Regions from separate parts of the Homo sapiens genome. Here regions 1, 3 and 4 are each linked to region 2. Evidence: promoter capture Hi-C in 16 types of primary human blood cells and fetal thymus (Javierre and others, 2016). All regions are on one chromosome and are shown on one strand. Each heading gives the region's core, a stretch centred on a gene start or on the middle of the fragment in contact. The rest is flanking DNA. Distances are from core to core; before and after follow the strand shown. Region 1 overlaps SPATS2L (spermatogenesis associated serine rich 2 like). Region 2 holds the start of C2orf69 (chromosome 2 open reading frame 69). Region 3 overlaps SPATS2L (spermatogenesis associated serine rich 2 like). Region 4 overlaps KCTD18 (potassium channel tetramerization domain containing 18).

Region 1 (5,218 bases), core at 2,558-5,057, 570 kb before region 2:
TTTTCTCTAGGATTGTTTTACTGGGTTACTTTGCACAAGTCATTTAGACTCCAGAATTTTCTGGAGATATTGGAGTTGGTCACCTATTCATATCTTCTCTCTCTTTCAATCAGTGTTCATCAAGTGCCTACTATACGTCAGGTGTTGGCAGAGGAGTAATGATGTTATTGGCTGACTTGTTACACAATGATGGTAATTTACAGAAGGTGGGTTCTTTCAAAGGACTAGGAACAATTAAATCAAATTCAAATCTAAGTATCTGAAGTTAAAAACAGGACAGCTGGGCGTGGTGGTTCAAGCCTGTAATCCCAGCACTTTGGGAGGCCAAGGTGGGCAGATTGCCTGAGCTCAGCAGTTCAAGACCAGCCTGGACACCATGGCGAAACCCCATCTCTACTGAAAATACAAAAATTAGTCAGGTGCGGTGGTATGCATCTCTAGTCCCGGCTACTTGGGAGGCTGAGGCTGGAGAATCGCTTGAGCCCAGGAGCTGGAGGCTGCAGTGAGCTGTGATTGCACCACTGCACTCCAGCCTGGGTTACAGAATAAAATCCTATCTCACACACACACACACAAAAAAAAAAAAAAGAAAAAAAAAAGGATACTTTTTTTTTTTTTTGACAGGGAGCACTTTTTACACTGCTATTTTCTGTAGAAGTTCTTTGGCCATTGTCACAGTCATGCTTCTGAACCATTTTTTTTTTTTTTTTTTTTTTTTTGCCAGAAGTCTACATAATTTCTCAGACAAATTTGCTTTGGAATATACTCATTATTCTGCAAAAGTTGTTTGTGGCAATTCTTCCTATGAAACTGGAACTTAGTGGCAGCCCCAGAAGCTCCTCTGAGCTGTGGGAAAAAACAGAGTTCTCAGACAAAGGGACTTCTGATAATTAATCATTAATGTGTAAGAACCTTGAATGATGAGAGCAGCATTGTGTATTTCTCAGATAGACTAGATTCAGACCAGAGTGCCTTTGCCTGCAGGGCTGCTATAATGAGATTAAACACTGGCTTGGCCAGCTGAGCAGCCTCCCAGGACTGGGGACCTGGTTCTTTGAAACTAAGAATAAACACAAAACTTTGTTAGAATTTATTAAAGAAGCAAAAAGATTTTAAAATCCTTATAATGGATTGTAAAGAATAGTATTTAAATTACATTTCAAATTCTTAGCTAAGTAACAAGAGAATCACTGGGACTTTGCAACTCTTCATAATTTTCTCACAAAATCAGAGCAATTGAGATGGCTCAGTACTTTCAAGGAAATGCTGGAACAATGTATTAGGCGAACTGCTTTTTTTCCTTTTTTTTTGGTCTTTTGCTATTTTATAGTTTGCTTAAGAAACTTAAGAACAAGTGACTGGGGCCGGGCGCAGTGGCTCACCCCTGTAATCCCAGCACTTTGGGAGGCCGAGGGGGGTGGATCACGAGGTCAGGAGATCAAAACCATCCTGGCTAACACGGTGAAACCCTGTATCTACTAAAAATACAAAAAATTAGCCAGGTGTGGTGGCGGGTGCCTGTAGTCCCAGCTACTCGGGAGGCTGAGGCAGGAGAATGGCGTGAACCCGGGAGGCGGAGCTTGCAGTGAGCCGAGACCGCGCCACTGCACTCCAGCCTGGGCGACAGAGCGAGACTCCATCTCAAAAAACGCGTACAGCAAAAAAGGGTGCCGTTACATAGGTCATTGGATGCTATCACTGGAATGTCTGTTGAGAAATAAACGTTTTACCATCTGTAGACACATGAGGGCGCTTTAAGCAGGCAGCGTGGGATGCAGCGTGCAAAGGGAGGGAGGGAGGAAGAAAGCTTTGTCAAAGGTAGCCTGAAATTCAGGCATCTCCCTATCTGGTTGCGGACCTGTGCCTGCGTCGGGGTGGGGAGCACCGAATCGATTTAGGAAAAGAACTGCGCAGGCCCTTGATCCCCACTTCTCATGGTGAAATCAAGTTTGAGGTTCAAATCAAGGCTTTCAGAGAGTCAGAATTTCCAAATCTGTTACTTTGTCAAAAAACTGCTTTTAATCTGGTAACGTTTCCCATTAACCTCATTTGATGTCCTTCCCTAAGAATGTTTAATTAGAATCTCCTTTTCTGATGCCAGCAGAATTGAACTGCTTGTGAACTGAGCTTTAAATTGGACATGTTGTGTTTCTAGTCCTCCACTGAGGGTGAATTTTGCAGCAATTTGCGTTTAACTTTCTGTGTCTTGCTGCATTAAGCACTTCTAGAATAGGATCAACAGGACAGAGCTGGAGTATGCAGAGATTCTCAAAAGAAATGTAAATTTGGAATGTAATTGGGAACCCAACAGGGAGGTGTGGATTTCACGGATGAAGTCTTGGTGGAAGATCTAAGTGCCACAATGTGAGTTTGAAGTTATTCCATCTTCATAAGGATTAAACTATTTTAACCTCTACTAGGCAAATGTTTAAGAGAATAATCTGACTACTGTGCATTAAGTAGAGAGATTAGAGTTTAAAACACTTTAAATGAATGGCAGAATAGGACTCAGTTCTCTAGGATCACACCAATAGTTCCACCAGACAGATGAAGATATGTAATACAGTGTTTAAGCGGCCTGACATTGGCACTAAAATATTGAAATTACTGTTTCAAAAATGCAAACTAATAAATGCTTACATGCCCAGGGTCTATAAGAAAGGCAAAAACCAGCCAGGCGAGGTGGCTCATGCCTGTAATTCTAACACTTTGGGAGGCCAAAGCAGGAAGATCACTTGAGCTCCGGAGTTCGAGACCAGTCTGGGCACCATAGTGAGACCTCGTTTCTACTAAAAATTTAAAAAGTAGCTGGGACGTTGTGGTGCACACCTGTAGTCCTCGCAACTTGGGAGGCTGAGGATGGCTTGAGCCCAGGAGTTCAAGGCTATAGTGAGCCATGATCATGCACTCCAGCCTAGGTGATAGAGCAAGACCCTGTCTCAAAAACATGCACTCCAGCCTAGGTGATAGAGCAAGACCCTGTCTCAAAAAAAAAAAAAAAAAGGAAAAAATATTGGAAAAAATGTGATCAGGTCTGAGCACTTTTTAGCATTCTTTTGTTTCTTTTCAGTGACATGGGAGTGTTTGCTCTGTGCTCAGGAATGTGTTTGGGCTTTCTTAACCCTAAGGGAGTGAGTCGAGGTCAAGAGTGGTTGGGTTCAACTCTGACAAAGGCAGGTGAACTCCTGACCTGGCAAATTCATTTTTTTCCCTGTTCCAAGAATTACTTGACTCATCTTTAAAGCGGTCACATTTACACTGACATTTTTCAGTGGTGAGCAAAATCTTGCTACATAAAAAACTGTGCAAAATCCTTCCGTCTTGTAATATATGAATTCAGGGCCTCAGATGGGGTAAACAGGGCCTACAGTGCCGAACATTTATCTTTCTTATTTGAACGAACAACTCTTCCTTCCTTCCTGGAATGTGACTTAACGTTAAGAATTTCTATTAAATCTCTGGGTACACCCAGAGACCTCAGAAAGCTCTCTACAGAGAGAGCAAACATCCTCCTGTACTTGGCAAAAGAAGAAACAGATGCTTGCGTGGCTTGCAGGCTCAGCTGCTCAGGGCCGCTCTGTGGAAGAGAACCAGTGAACCTGGGTTGCCAGAAAAAATGTTAATGTTGAGTTGAGAATAAGCATTTGCACTTGTGAGTAGTCAACAGATATGTAGGACATGTGAGTGCAACGGAAGCGGCACCCAAACTGGACTGCCCTGTAGTCAAAGTTAGGGGAACTGGGGCTATTTTGGGTTTGGGCCATTGGGTATCCATTTTCCCTTTCTGAGAAGTACCCCTTCTCCATCTAGCTCAGGAACTCTGGGAAGATGGCCACACCCAGGCTCCAGGGGTGGGCTCTAATTAGTCTATGCAAATTAGTTCATCCCATTCACTTCTCTCCCCCCTTTCATGATTGGTTTAAGAGACAGGCCTACCAGCAATGGTATGCAAGACCTTTGCTGGGATTTCTGAGAAAGACACTTGCTCTGTGTAGAAGCTACTAGGATAACTTCTCTCCTCTGGACAGTGTGGAAAATAGACTTGAGTCTTAAGAGCATGGTGGCCCTTTGCCACAATTCTGAATGCAATGTCAACCCAAGGAGGAAAGGAGAGCTAAGATAATTAAGAGATGGGAGCTGGCCGGGTACGGTGGCTCATGCCTGTAATTCCGGCAGTTTCGGAGGCCAAAGCAGGTGGATCACCTGAGGTCAGGGGTTTGAGACCAGCCTGGACAACATGGTGAAATCCTGTCTGTACTAATAATATAAAAATTAGCAGGGCGTGGTGGCACATGCCTGTAATCCCAGCTACTCGGAAGGCCGGGCAGGAGAATGGCTTGAACCCAGGAGGCGGAGGTTGCAGTGAGCCGAGATCATGCCATTGCACTCCACCTGGGTGACAAAGCAAGACTGTCTCAAAAAAAGAAAAAGAAAAAAGAAAAAAAAAAAAGAGATGGGAGCTGAAATCCTGATCAAATTGGACCAACTGGACTTTTCACTCACTGAACCAATAAATTCTTATTGTTGAAGCTAGGCTCAGCTGAGGTTTGTAGTACTTGCAACCAATGTTTCCAACTGCCCAACTGCCACATGGTGTGTCTAAGATGATCAGGGTGCATATCCATCTATTTGTGTAATCTAATTGAAAGGGCATATATATATTTTCCTGAAAGAGTACTTGTCTCAACAGAAACAGTATTTATTGTACACAGCTTTGCACCACAACCTCTAGTCTCTAAAGTTTTTTTTGAAAGCACTAAACAGTACATTCAATAACTAGGTGGGTATCAATAAAAGAAACTAGCCAGGTGTCAAATGCAGCATATTTTAATTTGTTTCAAATAAAGCAATATATGTATATATATTTTTTCAGAAAAACACCAGATGTTAAATTCTACAAAAGCGCATGTGTCCTCAGCAGATCATGTTTGTCTGATTATTAAGAATTCTTTTTTGTAACATTAACTCTCTAAAGACAATCAATGGACTGACATCACTGCTACAACACAGGTTGCTAACTGAGCCTCTGATCTTCAGCCACATCTTGATTTTCCTAATAATGAGTAAATACTGCCTGGCTAAAATGCTGCAAAGTCTTGATGAGAGAAAGCATCAACAGATCAAGCAAAGCCATGAAAATTATGAAGCAAGCTAGAGCTGATTATTAGAATTAGTAAAAATGATTAAGAGAGGATGACACAACCATACGGGATTTGTA
Region 2 (5,379 bases), core at 1,314-3,813:
AAAACACTTAGGAGGTGCTCAATAAATGTAATCATTATCATCATCATTATTTTAGGAATGCATGCAGTAATTGTTCCACAAAATTATTCTGGCAGTCATAGTCGGAAATGTCACATGTTATTTTCCCAATCTGAGCCACAAGGGCACCAAGTAAGTAAGTGGCTTTTTTTTCTCTTAAATCTAAGTAGTAGTTGTTTTTTTCTTTATTCTCTTTTTTTTTCTCCAGTTTTTATTAGCAGTCAACTAAACCAGTCAATTATTTTGAGGGCAAAAGAAAATAATACATATTATAAAAATATATATATATTTTATATATATTATATAGTATATTTTATATATAGTATAATATATATTTTATATAATATAATATATATTTTATATAATATATATTTTATATAATAGAATATATATTTTATATAATATATATTTTATATAATAGAATATATATTATATATAATATATGTTATTATATATAATATATATCATAATAGAATATATTATATATAATATATATTATAATAGAATATATATTATATATAATATATATTATAATAGAATATATATTATATAATAGAATATATATTCTATAGAATATATTTTATATAATATATATTATATATATTATAATATATATTATATATAATATATTATATATTATATATAATATATATAATTTTATATATAATATATATATAAAATAATATATATTATTTTCTTTTGCCCTCAAAATAACTGGTTTAGTTGACTGCTAATAAAAACTGGAAAAAAAAAGAGAATATCTATATCTATATCTATATATCTATATCTATATCTTAATCATTATCTGACTCAGAGCACAGTTTCTAAGTATGTCATTTTAAGGCACCAATTTTGAAAATAAACTAATGTAGTTTCATAGTATAAGAAACACATGTAGGCCGGGCGCGGTGGCTCACACCTATAATCCCAGCACTTTCAGAGGCCAAGGTGGGCAGATCACTTGAAGTCAGAAGTTCGAGACCAGCCTGTCCAACATGGTGGAACCCCATCTCTACTAAAAATACAAAAATTAGCTCAGTGTGGTAGCGCATGCCTGTAATCCCAGCTACTCGGGAGGCTGAGGCACGAGAATCACTTGAGCCCGGGAGGCGGAGGTTGCAGTGAGTCGAGACTGCGCCACTGCACTCCAGCCTGGGCAACTAAGCAAGACTCCGTCTCAAAAAAACAAAAAAGAGAAACATACCTAGCTATAGTCTAGCTTTACCTGTCTAGAACTTTCTATGATGATGGATTATTTTCTATGATAATGCTATATATCTGTGCTGTCCAATACAGCACACGCAAGCCATCTGTAGCTACTGAGCACTTGAAATGCAGCTAATATGAATAACTGGATTTTTAGTTTTATTTAATTTTAATTAATTCAGATAGCCATATATGGCTAATGGCTACCATATTAGATAATGCAACGTTAGATTAAGACCCAGTTTTCAGGGCAACATAACCACGGATATTTACCTGCAGCTATAAAATAATAAACATAACATGCAAAAGCAAAAGTACAAAAGAGGTGAGCATCAAAACATTGACATGCTTAATAATTATTGTCCCTTTTCTTCCACCCATCCCCACTCTTTTTTAGGGTTACTGGATGTCATACCTTTGTAATGTTTGTTTGGTTTTTAATTACTGCCACCGTTTTCTAAACACTACGTGCTAACTTAATTTGAAAGCCATCGCTCTGTCCCCTGCCCAACACACACACACGGTCCTCTGAGAAACCAAATTATAGAATAAATATACAAGATGCGTGTCACTCCCTGTCTCAAATTCCGCCTCTTGGAAACCTGGACCGACAGCTGGCTCTTTCGAGATCGTAGCCCTCGTCGGACACCTTCCCCATGGGGTTCTATGGACAAAGGGCGCCAAGGGCGTGGAAGGCACGGTTTTGGATTTCGTGGAGTAGAGGAAGAGCCACCCTCAGTGAATGTGTGGGTGTGTTCAGGCAAGGAAAGGAACCAGGCAGCAGCCACGAGGGAAGAATCAGTGACCGCGTACGTATACACGAGAGGAAGGAACAGATACCCAGGCAGGCCCCGAGTTACCTGCACATCCCCAGGGAAATAGAGGACGTGATGCTGGGGCGGCGGCTGCGGCTCCTCCTTCGCTGGGTCCCCGGGGAGGTCCTGCCGCTCCAGTCCCTCCCCGGCCGCCGCCAACAGGAGCAATTCGTTGCTGCGCTGCGGATCGGCTCCAGGCACGGTGGAAAGCTGCAGGCACTGACGGCGGCGCACCTCGGCCGAGAGGGAGCATCGCGCGCCGCCGCTGCCGCCCGGGTTCATGGTTCTGGCCTGAGAGCAGGACGAGGCGTTTCCGATTCCGAGCTGCGGCAGCAGGAGCAGCAACGGCGGCGACCGCAGGAGCCTGAACCCCCACATGGGTCGCCGCCGCGAGAGCGGTTCGGAGGTGGAGGGTGGCGGAGGGGTTCCTGAGGGAGGGACTTCAGCAGGCGGCTCAGCCGGCGGCTCAACGGTCGGCGGCCGCGGCCCGGCCGGGAGCCGGCGCTGAGGCGACGACGTCAGAGGCCGACGTCCGCGCGCAGCGTGCGTAAGGAAAGGAAGGGAGGGGTGTGGGCGAAATCGGTCTTGGGATCCCGGAGAAGACGGTGGGCGTGGCTTGAGGAAGGGCGTTTGTGATTGGTGGGTTCTGCCGCGGCCGGGAAGTTCGAACAGAAGTCTGGGGAAGAGCCGGCGAAGAGCAAAGAGATAATACAGTACTCCCAGCTATAGCAAGCGGCAGTTATGGAGCATGCGCAGCAGCAGGGGCGGCCGCAGGTCGCCGTTCAATAATACGTAATGTATAGACTTTTGAGTATACGAAGCTCCCTGTTTCTCTAGGTTCACCTGAGATTTATCTGGTCTTTCAGGGCTTAAAAGGGAGACATTCCCAAAGAAGATTCCGTGGGAAGTCTCCTACAAGCCCCGAAGGAAGGGAATCTCTCTCCTCATACCTTGAGTTTCCTGAGTACAATTATTATAGATATACGAAGATCTCTGTGCTCATGGAGAATTTGTGGTTAGATATGAAGCTAATTCATCTCTGTTTGGGAACAGGGTACATGATCTAGGACAGGAAAAAAACGGGGCGAGGCAGTACGCTTTACTTGGTGTTTTGCTATTTGGAGGTTTTCAAAAACTAAACAGTGTAGGAAAGTCATGTGTGTCCAGCAACTATCTGTGGCCAGTTGAGTAGGAATAAGATTTGGCGAAATGTATGCTCAGGCCTGTACTCCCAGCACTGTGGGAGGCCGAGGCGGAGGATCACTTGAGTCCAGCAGTTTGAAACCAGCCTGGGCAACATAGGGAGGCCTTGTCTCTACTAAATTTTTTTTTTTAATTAGCCGGGCGTGGTGGTGCATGCCTATAGTCCAAGCTACTGGGAGGGCTGAGATGGGAGATTGGATCGCTTGAGCCCAGGAGTTGTATGCTGCAATGAGTTGTGATCCCACCACTGCACTCCAGCCTGGGCAACAGAAGCAGACCCTGTCTCAAAAAATAAACCAAAAACAAACAAAACAGGGAAATGTGTGCGAGCGAGGATGAGATCCAAGTACTTGTGAGACAAAGCACTGTAAAGAGAATAATTAATGAAAATTACAAAAAACTACAGCCAACATTTGTTGAGGGTTTACTATAGGCCAGAAATCTAAGCACTTTATATATAATTGTTCGGAGTTTATATATGTGTATTTAAGCACACATACTGTTTTCTTTGGTCTACATATGCAAATAATAACAAATGGCTTGGAGTAGGAACATAAATGAGCAAATGATAAAATATGATTTATATATATGTATAGACTTGGTGACTTAGTATGCTAACCTACTCTGGTCTAAATTGTTGCATTCCATCTGACATCAAAATATTGTTATCAATCAAAAATTATTCAATTAATTACTAAGGAAATCTGCCGCTTTCTAAAATAACTGGTTAAAAACAAGTAGAGGTTAGTTATACAATAATTAGTATATAATGACATTTAGGCAACCTGACGTCACTCTGTTTTGCCAATTGCAAACATGTTACTTTCCATTGTTAGATAGAGGATTGCTGAAATGTTATCTAAAAGTCCAAACATGTACATGAATTGCAAATGCAGCTTTTGATTTGTGGTCTTGTTTTTAGCTTGACCTTATAATGAAATCTATTTTTATTTTTAAGTTTATTTTTTTAAGACAAGATCTTGCTTTGTCACCCAGGCTGGAGTGCAGTGGCACAATCTCGGCTCACTGCAATCTCTGCCCCCCAGATTCAAGCGATTCACTTGCCTCAGCCTCCCTAGTAGCTGAGATCACAGGCATGTGCCACCACGCCCGGCTAATTTTTGTATTTTTTTAATAGAGACAGGGTTTCTCCATGTTGACCATGCTGGTTGCGAACTCCTTACTTCAGGTGATCTACCCGCCTCGGCCTCCCAAAGTGCTGGGATTACAGGCAGGAGCCACCATGCCCTGCCTTAATGAAATCTATTCTTATTGAAGAGAGTGGAGAATGTGTTTTATAAGGAAAATTGTAGCAAATATTAAATGCCACAAAGTTGTCTCAGTATCGCTAAGATAATTAAGGTCTTTGAGAAATACAAGTAAGAATTTAAAGAGTAGAGTAAAGAAACAGACTAAAGTAAGCACAAATGTTTCCTTACAGTCAAGGGATTTGTACAGCCCTGTAGGAGACACCTCCAGAGAAAGTAACAGCTCTCAATTGATTAGCTGAGGTATGTATGTCATTTATGGCAAGTCATTGCCGTTGCAATTCCTTCTCACAGGTCCCCTTGATATTACTGTAATACCTGTTTTCTGTCTCCATCCCCTCTGTCTTCTAGGAGACCGATTTTGTAAATCACTACTTTTCTAACAACACTGGCACAGATGGCCAAGCATTCTCCCTTTTCTCAGAGCTGGTTTTCCATCCCGGAAAGAGGTCTTACATATACAAAGTTACTCTAATCAGTTGTGTGAGTTTTCTCTTCTCTAACTGATAGGGTTCTGCACAGGGATTATATTAATGCTTATAGTGTCCAAAAGGCTATAGCTCACCTCTGGACTCTTGAGAGTTCTCAAGGGATCCTGCTGAGCTCTCAGACCTTTTTAATGCTATTCAATATAATAGAAAAGTTGCAAAATTGGAAGGAATCTGAGAAAGGCTAATTTACAATGGAAAGGACAGCATTAAAAGGCACAAACTCCAATATCTACAGGGGCCAGGTCTATATTATAAATAGTAAAATTGGCCACAAATAAACAATAGGGAATGTAAACACTGGCAAACTAGAGAGATGTCATATTTGAAGAAGGCAGTCACTATTCACTGCTAGCCAGTTGTAAAATGAAGGCAACATTT
Region 3 (5,744 bases), core at 3,012-5,511, 520 kb before region 2:
AGCAAAAATGAAGTGACAACAGATACTATAATCATTGCATCTAATTTATGGAGGGCTTAAATCAGAAAACATCATCATAATATCTCAACTATATTTAAAATCTAGGGAGTCAGATTCTCTCTGGAGATTTAATAGATGTGGCAATCAATTAGCAGGATGTTGCTTTTGGCATCTTTTAAAGGTAGGTTCCCATTTAGTTATTGCTGGAATGAATTAAATAGCATGTTAGTGGCCTGAAACGGAAATGTATCACTCTTAACATCTTACTACCAGAGAAAGTTTTGGGTGTGAGAAAAGGGAAGCCAGTGTGCTCTTGAAGGCCAGGTTCTTGTAGAAAGCTTGATGAGTGCAGTTTTGATCTAGGAGAACCAAGTTCTGGTATTCCTTATGTCCTGGGTGACCTTGTGGGAATGTCTTCACTTGTCTGGCTGACTGGCTTGCACTCAAACAGAACACAGTCATCTTTGTAAAACCCAGCCTTTTCAGATAGTCACCCTTGCCCTGCTTCTCTCTACTCCCATGGTACCTTGCTTTACTTAAAACCATGGTACCACGGTTTTATATTTTAACACAAGGCTTCCATATCTGCCCCTCACCCCTGCCTTGCAGAGGCTGCAATCTTCCCAAGGGCAAACACTGAGTTCAATTCTGTTTTGAAGCCCTAGTACTTGTGTCTGGCTCGATGGCTTTCTGTAGAATTATGATCTAATTAAAGTACATTTGAAACAATTTCATAGAAAAAAATAAAAAACAATGAATATCTTACCTGACACAGTCAGAGACTACACTTGAAAAAATACAAAGGAATATGATCTAGGTCCTAGTCAATTTGATTTTAGACATTAGTCCATTCATGATCAATATAATTAGACTTCAGTTGAATCCATCATTCATAACTTACATATCAAGAAAGCACAACATACTTTCTATGAGCTGAATGAATACCCTTAAAAATTTACTCACAGTACACAAAATGTTCAGCAAAGGTAGTAAACAAAGTACATAAGTACTGAAAACAGCATTTCCTCCAGTAATAAAACAGATTCAAATGGTAGTATGCAATTTTATCCTTAGTGATATTAAGGTAGAACTTCACTATAAGGCACTGGCTGTCAAACTTCAGTGTGAAATGAGTTTCCCTTGGTACTTATTACACATGCAACTTCCCGAACACCATTTCTAGAGATTCCAGTTCAGCTGTGGGCCCAGGCTTCTCCTCCCCAGGTGATTCTGTTGGAGTGGAGATGGGTGGTACCAGCCACCCAGAGAAACCCTACTGTAAAAGATTAAAAAACTAATTTTATGTTGAGTCTATAAACATTTGTGTTAAAACAATGACACGTCCAAACTGGTTCCAAGTCACTACCTCTCTAAATTCCAGTTGAGAGGCAGTCTGGATGAGATACTATAAATTGAGAATTCTGGGTTAGGCTGTTTTTGCATTGCTGTAAGGGAATACTTGAGCCTGGGTAATTTTTAAAGAAAAGAAGTTTATTTGGTTCATGGTTCTGTACGCTGTACAAGAAGCATGATGCCAACATCTGCTCAGCTTCTGGTGAGGGCCTCAGGAAGCTTACAATCATGGCAGAAGATGACTGGGAGCCAGCATACCACATGGTGAGAATGGGAGCAAGAGAGTGAGGGGAGAGGTGCCACATACTTTTAAACAAGCAGATCTCACATGAAGTAACTGAGCAAGAACTCGCTTATCACCAAGGGGATGGTGTTAAACCATTCATGAGGGATCTGCCCCCATGATCCAATCACCTCCCACTGGGCCTTACCTTTGACATTGGGAATCACATTTCAACATGAGATCTGGAGGGGACAAACATTCAAACCATATCAAATTTAAAACACAGATCTTCGTGTATAGTGTCGTAAAGAGATCATATTCTTGAAAATAAGGGGATTTATACTATAACTTAATGGAAACAATGACCTTAGAGCAGAGGGAAAAAATTATTGTAATGAAATGCAAAAGAATTTTAAATGGAAGCCAAGCATGCAAATGAGCATAGGCTCATTAACCTAGAGCTGAAAACATTTTATTTGTGTATCAGAGAACTGATATATGGTCTACTGGTTCGTTTCAACATTCCCCATCAGATATCAATTGAGAAATGTGAGTAGAGATTTTTTTTAGGTCCTCAAAAGCTGTCTCATTACTAGTGAAATCACTGAACATTAAAATCTTCAAGACCACTTGTACATATTTGCATATATGCATGTATGTCTGACATGCATGTATGTCTTGTTCATCATTACTGCATGTGTTTGATATCTTGCAGATACATAATAAATAATGAATGTATCAGTGTTACTTTAGTATAGATCTGTCTTCAAATATAGTAAAACTCTGGGACTCTTGCAGATGAAAACTGGTGGAGCGTTATAGAGCTATAACAGAAAGTCACTGTATCCAGTGACTTTCCTCTAACATTATAGTCCAGAAATACCATCAGCTCTCCATTTATCGGGAGTCCACTTGTAAACTTCAACAGGTTGTAGCTCAATGGGGGCTGATTCACACATAAGCCTCCAGTGTCCAGTAAGGTAGCCACTGGCCACATGTGGCTGTTGAACACTGGAAATGTGGCTTGTCCAAATTGAGATGTGCTATAAGTGTAATGTATATGCTGAAATGTGAAGGTTTAGTACAAAATAAAAAATTTAAAATATTACTTTAATAATTTAAAAAAGATTGACTACATGTTGAAATGATATTTTTGATACATTAAGTTAAATAAAATATATTACCCAATTTAATTCACCTGTTTACACTTTTTAAATGTGGCTACCAGAAAATATAAAATTATATACATACTATGTGTTAAATTTCTGTTGGATAACACTAATAGGATACACAAGGAGTGTGAGAGTTTTGATCTTCAGTGTGTAATCACTACTAATTTATATTCTAGAAAAGGGTATTTGTTTTAGTGAAGCCTTAAAATATCCTCTGCAATTTCTACATGAGAAAAGTGGTGACAGGGTGATGTATGTCTTGTTCATCATTACTGTATGTGCTTGGTATCTCGTAGATACATAATAAATACTGAATGAATGAATCAGTGTTACTTCAGTGCTATGCATGCCTACGGCCCTTCCAGTTGTAGGGAGCCTCGTTTGATATGAGTCTCTGGCTGTGTCTTTATCTAATATTCATCAAATATTAGATTCCACAGTAGCCGTATCTTGGAAAGAAAAGTTATCTCTGGAAACACACCATCTGCCTAGATTTCAATAAAAATTGTATACATTTTAATTTAATCCTTGTCCATGTATCTAAAAATGGCTCCTAGAAGTTTGTGTCTTTGAATTTAACTATTACGTGAGCATTCCTTTTATTGAAAACACTTACCAAATCCCAATTTTGTATATACACACAAATGGTATATAATGTCCTGAGTATCACGTTGGTTTCTGATTCAAGGATTCAACAGACACATATGGAGAGTGCACAGTGTATCAGCTCTGGTTTATTAATAGGCAATAAATGAGAAATAGACTGACCTTAATAACTAGTATGTAAAATGTGAAAAAATAATGGAAGAGGATACCAGAGTAAATCTGAATTGAACTTTCCCATTGAATTGTCTTGGTACCTCTGATAAACATTAACTGACTATATGCGTGACTATTTCTGGACTGTATTCTATTCCACCGATCTAGCTGCCAGTTCTCACACCACCATTACACTGTCCTAGTTACTGTAACTGCTTTACTCCTCTTTTTCAAGATTGTTTTGACTATCTTAGGTCCTTTGCATTTTAATATAAATTTAAGAATCAATTTGCCTATTTCAACAAAAAATATGATGAGATTTTCATTGGACTTGTGTTGAATCTATAAAGCAATTTGGGGATATGCGGTATCTTAACAATACTGAGTCTTTTGACCCTCGACATGACATACTATGCCATTTATTTCAATTCTAATTTGCTTTAGCATCATTTTATAGTTCTTAGAGTCTTGTGCATCTACAGTCAAATTTATTCCTAGGTGTTTTAGAATTTTTATGTTATTGTTTATAGCATTTTTAAAAATTTCAATTCCAAAATGTCAGGAATACAAATGCTTTTTAATATATTGAACTTATATCTAGCGACCTGGCTAATGTCCTTATTAGTTCTGGCAGCTTTATTTTTTTTTGTAGATTTCTTAAGATTTTCTTTCTACAAACACAATGATGACAGTGGTAATGAAGTCTAACTTCTTCTTTTCCAATCGTTCCTTGTCTTATTAATCCTAGCTACAAAGCAGAATGAGCATCCCTGCATTGTTCTGGGTCTTAGGGAAACTGCATTCAGTATTTTATCAAGTATTACACAGCTGTAGAGTTTCCATGTATTTATTAGACTCTAAAAATTCTCTTGTATTCCTTCTTTGCTGACAGTTTTTGTCAAGTGAATTTTTTATTTTACACACTGAGATGATCATATTATTGTTCTCCTTTATTTTATTAATAATATTATGTTGATTTTTTTAAATGTTAAACTGATGTTGAGTTCCTGAAATTATTAACCACACCCACTTGGTCATGCAGTATTATCCTTTTATATATTGTTTACTTCACTTGTTAATGTTTTGTTGAGGATTTTTGCTTCTTTATTCATTAACAATATTGTTCTGTAATTTTCTTTTCTTGTAATGACTTTGTCAGGTTTTGATACGAGTTATGCTGGCCTCATAAAATGAGTTAGGAAGTATTCCTTCTTTCTATTTTCTGAAACTGTTTAAGATTGCAATTACATTTATTCCTCAAATGTTCATGGGAATTCACTAAGGAAGTCATCTGGGCCTGGAAATTTTAATTATGAATTTCCTTGGTAAGCATAGTGTTATTCAGATTTTCTATTTCTTCTTGTCTGTTTTGGTAAGTTGTGTTTTTAAAGAATTTGTCCATTTCATTTAAGTTGTTGGATTTATTGGCATAAAGTTGTTTATAACATCCTGTTAGCTTTTAAATAAATGAAGTCAGGGTTAATTTTATCCCTGATATTGGAAATTGGTTTATTATATTTTCATTATGATTCAGTTCAAAATTTTTCTCATATCTCTTGTGAAATTTTCTTTTTGGCTAATGGATTGTTTAGAAGATTGATTAATTTTTAAATGTTCAGAGATTTTCTAGTTATCTTATTGCTATTGTTAATTCAATTCTACTGTGTTCAGACACCATACTCTTAAGATGGTGTTTTAAAATTTGAAACTAATTTTATGGTCCAGCAACTGGCCTATTTTAATGTAAATGCCATGTTCTCTTGAAATTGTTGGGTGTGTTGTCCTTTAAATATCAATTGGCTCAAGTTGGTTGATAGTATTGTTCAAATCGTCTATGTTCTTACTGATTTTTAATCTATATGTTCTATCAGTTACTAAGAACCTGATATTAAGATCTACACTGCTGTGGATTTGGATTTGTCGCTTTCTTTAGTTCTATATATTGCTGCTTCATGGATCTGGAATCATTAGATGCACATACATTTAGAGGTGTTATATCTTTTTGATCAATCAAACAACATATTACTATGAAATGACCCTTGGATATGAGGCTTGTTGTTTTTCATCAAATTTGGATAAACTGTGTCCATTATTTCTTCATAGCTTCCTCCTTCTCCCTGCCAAATTTCCTCTTTGCTCTCCTTCTGAGACTCTAATTACACCTATGTGAGACTGCCTGATACTGTTCCTTAAGTCACTGAGGCTCTGGCTTTGTTTTATTCTTTTACTTTTTTTCT
Region 4 (5,288 bases), core at 2,097-4,596, 580 kb before region 2:
CTATCTTAACACATCTGGTGCAAGCTGTGAGAGTAGAATTATTGGTGTATATGCCACAAAAACTGATGGAACAGACGCTATTGAAAAGCAGCTGGGAGGAAGAATTCACAGCAAAGGCATTTTTAAAAGGTATGTCCAAATTTAAATGTGAAAAAGAACAAAATAAAGTCTTGGTCTCTTTTAAGAGGTGTTTCTGAATGAAATGTGCTTGACTAGAAAAGACCATTAACACCTCTCAGGAGACACAGTGAGCCATCATAGCAGTTGAGATAGGCCTGCTTCATGAGGAAATTATAATTAAGATCATTTCCCATACAGTATGGATAAGCTGCATGCCATCTGCATGATCTAGTGCAGTGGTTCTCAACTGGGAGTCTGCATCAGAATCCCCTCCCCTGAGAGGCTTAAAAAGAAAAGAAGAGAAAGAAAAAAGAAAAGCCACATGCCTGGTGTCTTCCTAGACCATAGAAGCATTGGCAGAAGAAGTCAGCAGGCCTACTGAGTGACTCAGGGCTGGCCTGCCTTGGTGTCTTCTTCTGAGAAATGACGAAGCACTTGCTGGTCCCTTCCAGCTTTAGAATTTTATGACTTGAACATGTTAAATTCTTAAGAGTTATTACTTAATATTTTTCCTATAATCTTATTTACACTGGTTAATTCTCTTAGCAATTTTTAAAAAAATTCTCTGGCAGATGGGATTGGGTCGAATATTAGTGACTAATGAAGGATCATATAAGCTTGCCTTTTGAGATTATTAAATATGTCATCAGTTTCTGAATTCTTTACAGATAGGGATGCTTCTATGTAAGATGTGTAAGTGCCTGGCATAATGCTGGTGAAACGTGAATATTTTCTAAGTTCATTGGAGTTCGCTGATTTTTTTTAAAAACTTGATATTAAAGATGTGTTGATTTGTCTACATGGTGCATATTGTGGAATTAATAAAATACTATGATAAAAAGAGATCAAAATATAGGTTAGTATATTATATAATGTGTACATATGTATCTGTGTAAGCATATGTATACTTAAGGATCACAGAACAACTACTCAGTGCTTACATGTTTTTTCCCTTAATTAACAAGCTCTTATTAAATGTATATTAGCTGTATGTATATATGCACATCCATACCTAGGTAGTATATTTTCATTACTCTTTGCAATATTTCTAGAGAGGCGGGAAATAATGTTCAGTACATTTGGAGCTATTATTCAGTAGCAGAGTTGAAGAAAATGATGGATGCCTTTGATGCTTGGGAAGGAAAAGGTACAGTGCAATTCTTTTATTTCATGGAAGCAGGTGGACTTTAAAAAAAAAAGACAAAGTAAGCTCAAATACTGCATTTCTTTTTTTAGAAAGTATTCTTTTGAGTCTTACAATGTATTTGTCATCTCATGATAACACTGAGGCAGTTTACTTACAAATCTTTAAATCCCATGAGTTGCTAGATATTATTAATAGTTTATAATTCAGTAACTAGGTATGTTTCTGTTAGCTAGGCTTATTTAATTTAATTAAATAAGAGTTCATTTAGTACCTACTGTGCATTGGAAAAATACTTCAAATTAAGCATAAAATATGTAATCAAGGAAAGGGAGAGAAAATAATGTTGGAGAAGATGTCTAAAGAGCCCTTATAAAATAATTACAATAATCTTTAAATGTACACTTTGAAAACTGGTCATTTTTCTCAAACTACAGAGTGAGAGTTGGTAATAATAATGCTGTTTTATATCCCCGATAAGTAGTTTACATTCAGTATCTCTTAGTCCTAACACAATCCTGTACGCTACTTACCATTCCTATTTTATAGATGAGGAAACTGAGTCTCAGAAGGGCTTTGACACTTTCATAAGGATCACAGGTTACGTGTTCTGTTCTATGCCTAAGCATTTTTTTTCTTAATTAACAACCATGTATTGAGTGTCTGTTAGGTGCAAAGTATGATAACAAGTCCTAAAATTGGATCCAAAGATAAATAAGACTTATTCCATCCTCAAATAATCCTGAAAGCTAGTAAAGACTGACTGCCAGTCACACAATGGATAAAAGATCTGGGCCTGGTGTCATGCACCTATTGTCTCAGTTACTTGGGAGGCTGAGGCAGGAGGATTGCCTGAGCCCAGGAGTTTGAGGGTGGAGTGAGCTGTTATCACACCACTGCACTCCAGCCTGGGTGACAGAGCAAGACATAAAAGGAGAGGAAGAGGCTTTTAAAAACTGCATTGGCTGGGTGCAGTGGCTCATGCCTGTAATCCCAGCACCTTGAAGGCCGAGGCAGGTGGATCACCTGAGGTCAGGAGTTTGAGACCAGCATGACCAACATGGCGAAACCCCATCTCTACTAAATACAAAAAATTAGCCGGGCATGGTGGCGCATGCCTGTGATCCCAGCTACTTGAGAGGCTGAGGTGGGAAAATGGCTTGAACCCGGGAGGCAGAGGTTGCTGTAAGCTGAGATTGTACCATTGCACTCCAGCCTGGGCAACAAGAATGAAACTCCGTCTCAAAACAAAACAAAACAAAACACTGTATCAGCTGTTCTTCCTTCAGGTGTCGTGCCAGCTCCAGTCCTTCTTCCTTTCCTCAACTTTGCCCCCCTCACTTTCCTTCCTTTTTCCTTTCCAGTCATACCCCTCAAGAGGCAGGATGACATCTTTCAGCTTTCTATTTTATATTTAATTTACTTTGAGACACTTATGCTCAAGTTGGAGAACAAACTCCATGGTGTTCTCTGTGTCTCTCTTTGTGCCTCTGGACTGGCAAGATGTCCAGGAGCCCACTGCCTTAGAAAGCTGAAGGAGGGCTGGGCACGGTGACTCACACTTGTAATCCCAGCACTTTGGGAGGCCGAGGCAGGTGGATCATGAGGTCATGAGATTGAGACCATCCTGGCCAGCATGGTGAAACCCTGTCTTTACTAAAAATACAAAAATTAGCTGGGTGTGGTGGCACACGCCTGTAGTCCCAGCTACTCAGGAGGCTGAGGTAGGAGAATCGCTTGAACCCAGGAGGCAGAAGTTGCAGTGAGCCGAATTTTTGCAATCAGATCTTGGCGATGACCTTGAGCAGTAGGATATAAATAACTCCCACATGCTTAGTGTTCCAATAATGGAACACTAGGCATAAATGTTAAACACAAAACAAAACAAAAAAACAAGAAACATTAAAAATTATAAATAAAATTTAAAGACTAATAAAAAACTAGGATAAATAATGTTGCATTAACTGGACAAAGTATATCCTTAATAGAAAGAAAGTTTATTAAAATTGATTAGAAAGGCAACCACTACTACAAAAAAAAAAATTACAAGGTTCATGACCATAAAATTCCCAGAAAAAGAAGTAAACACGTGGCAGGCGGTTCAGCTTCATTCCTTATCAATGAAATATACATTTAATAAAAACAATTTTTTATATACCAGATGAGTAAAGATCTCTTATTCATTCCTGGTAGGAGTAAAAATTGATGTAACTTTTGGAAAATAACTTGTTAGGTCACATCAGTGCATCACAATTGTTCATATTCTTTGACCCAGTAATTTTACTTCTTGGAATCTATCTTATCTATCTTAAGGACATAAACACAGACAAAGGCTTAGGAACAGAAATGTTCTCTGGCATTTTTCATAATAGAGACAAAATAAAAACACTTTAAATGTCTAATGATTGAGGGTTAAATATATTTTGGCACATCCACAGAATGGAATATAATAAAGCGATTAAAGTTATTTTAAATAACTTTTTGCATAGATGAATGCCCATGATAAGAAATGATGAAAAGCAGGAAATAAATGTAAAGTATATCATATGACTAGAAAAAAGACTGGAATGAAACATATTAGTCTGTCCTGAGCCAATGATTCCTGGTCTTCTGATTAGGAGTGACTTTGATTCCCTTATATATACTTTTCTATATTTTCCAGGTATTGTACAAGGGATGTGAATTACTTTATAGGCAGGAAAAAAAAAGAAAGTTTTTAAACAAATTGTGGTGTATCCATACAGTGGAATACTACTCACTGATAAAAGAAATGATCATTGCTACATACAGCAACATGGATGAATCTTAAAGCATCATGCTAAAGAAGCCAGACACAAAAGGTTGCATTTTGTATGATCCCATTTATATGACATTTCAGAAAAGGCAAAACTAAGGATATGGAGGGGACATTGATTGCTAAGGGGTATGAGGAAATTTTTGGGGTGATAGAAGTGGTCTACAGATTATGACTATGGATACATAACTATATCCATTTGTCAAAACTCATTGAAATGTGTACCTGAAAAGGGTGAATTTTATTTTACATAAATTATATCTTAATAAATCTGACTTTTAGAAAAAGCAAACTTAATGGACCGGATTTGGGAATGTTTTTATAGTATGTGTAGGTTTTGGAGTGTGATCAAGCAGTTCCAGAAAGTTAATTGTTTTAAAATGAGGATCATAGAGTTATTTGAGTATCAGATATGTCTATCATTATAATGATTTATATGCCCAGCTTGCTAAATTGTTATTGTTACCAGAAGTTTAATAAGAAGACAACACCAAATCCATTATTGGGACTTAGATTACTCCAAGCAATTTTTATTCAACATAATTCCTTGAGCTTTTTTCATGTGTATATATTTATGCTTCTTTTCTAAAAAAAATTGAGATGGAAATTCACATAACAGAATTAACTAAAGCATACATTTCATTGGTATTTACTACATTCACAATGTTGTGCAATCATTACCTCTCTCCAGTTCTAAACATTTCATCACCCCAAAAGGAACCCCTAAGCGGTCACTCCCCACTCCACTGTCTCCCACAGCCCCTGGCAACCAGCAGTCTGCTTTGTGTCTCAATGGATTTACCTACTCTTGATAGCTCTACAAATGGAACAATACAAATGTGACCTATTGTGTTTGGTGTTTTTCACTTAGCATAATGTTTTCGAGGCTTCAAGAATAAATACATTTTTCAGCTCTTAATAAAAAACATAACAGATTTAAAAATTAAAATGAATTTGAATGGCATTTTTGCCTAACTCACTAGCTCAGATTCTTGTTGGAAAAGGTGGTTATCGGGTGGTGATGTCTCATATTTGTACAGTGGTTGCCATTTTCAGAGTAGTTCACAAAGTTCCCCTGATTTGATGTTACAGCAACCCAGTGAAGTAGACAAGGCAAGTGTTACAACCCACCCCCTATACAATACTTATACTGCTCCCTACGACTACTGGGAATAAAGGTACTTGACAGTTTTTGAGTGCTTAGTCTGTGCTAGACCCTGTTCTAAGCAC

The links. The method cuts DNA at HindIII sites, captures the fragments that hold promoters and counts their contacts. A CHiCAGO score of 5 or more calls a contact.
Region 1: a fragment that was not itself captured here is called in contact with the fragment with the promoter of C2orf69 in region 2 in 1 of 17 cell types (non-activated CD4 T cells); the score reaches 7.8 in non-activated CD4 T cells.
Region 3: a fragment that was not itself captured here is called in contact with the fragment with the promoter of C2orf69 in region 2 in 1 of 17 cell types (M2 macrophages); the score reaches 5.5 in M2 macrophages.
Region 4: a contact is called between a fragment that was not itself captured here and the fragment with the promoter of C2orf69 in region 2, in 2 of 17 cell types (activated CD4 T cells and non-activated CD4 T cells). The highest score is 5.8, in activated CD4 T cells.

What each region holds. Positions count from the first base shown.
Region 1 is chr2:200,478,124-200,483,341 of GRCh38, reverse strand. SPATS2L (spermatogenesis associated serine rich 2 like) reads right to left here. Exons shown (of 13, transcript NM_001100423.2): 13 at 1,078-5,218. Among named protein-coding and RNA genes, the nearest start is that of KCTD18, 29 kb to the left of the region's middle. The HindIII fragment of the contact is 3,995 bases long and covers 1,810-5,218 here.
Region 2 is chr2:199,908,477-199,913,855 of GRCh38, reverse strand. It overlaps C2orf69 (chromosome 2 open reading frame 69), which reads right to left and starts at 2,563. Exons shown (of 2, transcript NM_153689.6): 1 at 2,085-2,563. The coding sequence starts at 2,417. LOC101927687 (a long non-coding RNA gene) reads left to right here and starts at 2,710. Exons shown (of 4, transcript XR_923766.4): 1 at 2,710-2,831; 2 at 4,684-4,753. RefSeq lists an enhancer at 2,242-2,431. The HindIII fragment of the contact is 7,031 bases long and covers 1-5,379 here.
Region 3 is chr2:200,432,893-200,438,636 of GRCh38, reverse strand. All of the region lies in intron 6 of SPATS2L (spermatogenesis associated serine rich 2 like), which reads right to left. All of the region lies in intron 3 of LOC101927741 (a long non-coding RNA gene), which reads left to right. Among named protein-coding and RNA genes, the nearest start is that of KCTD18, 74 kb to the left of the region's middle. The HindIII fragment of the contact is 5,374 bases long and covers 1,575-5,744 here.
Region 4 is chr2:200,493,732-200,499,019 of GRCh38, reverse strand. It overlaps KCTD18 (potassium channel tetramerization domain containing 18), which reads left to right. Exons shown (of 7, transcript NM_152387.4): 4 at 1-129; 5 at 1,173-1,267. Among named protein-coding and RNA genes, the nearest start is that of KCTD18, 14 kb to the left of the region's middle. The HindIII fragment of the contact is 5,213 bases long and covers 740-5,288 here.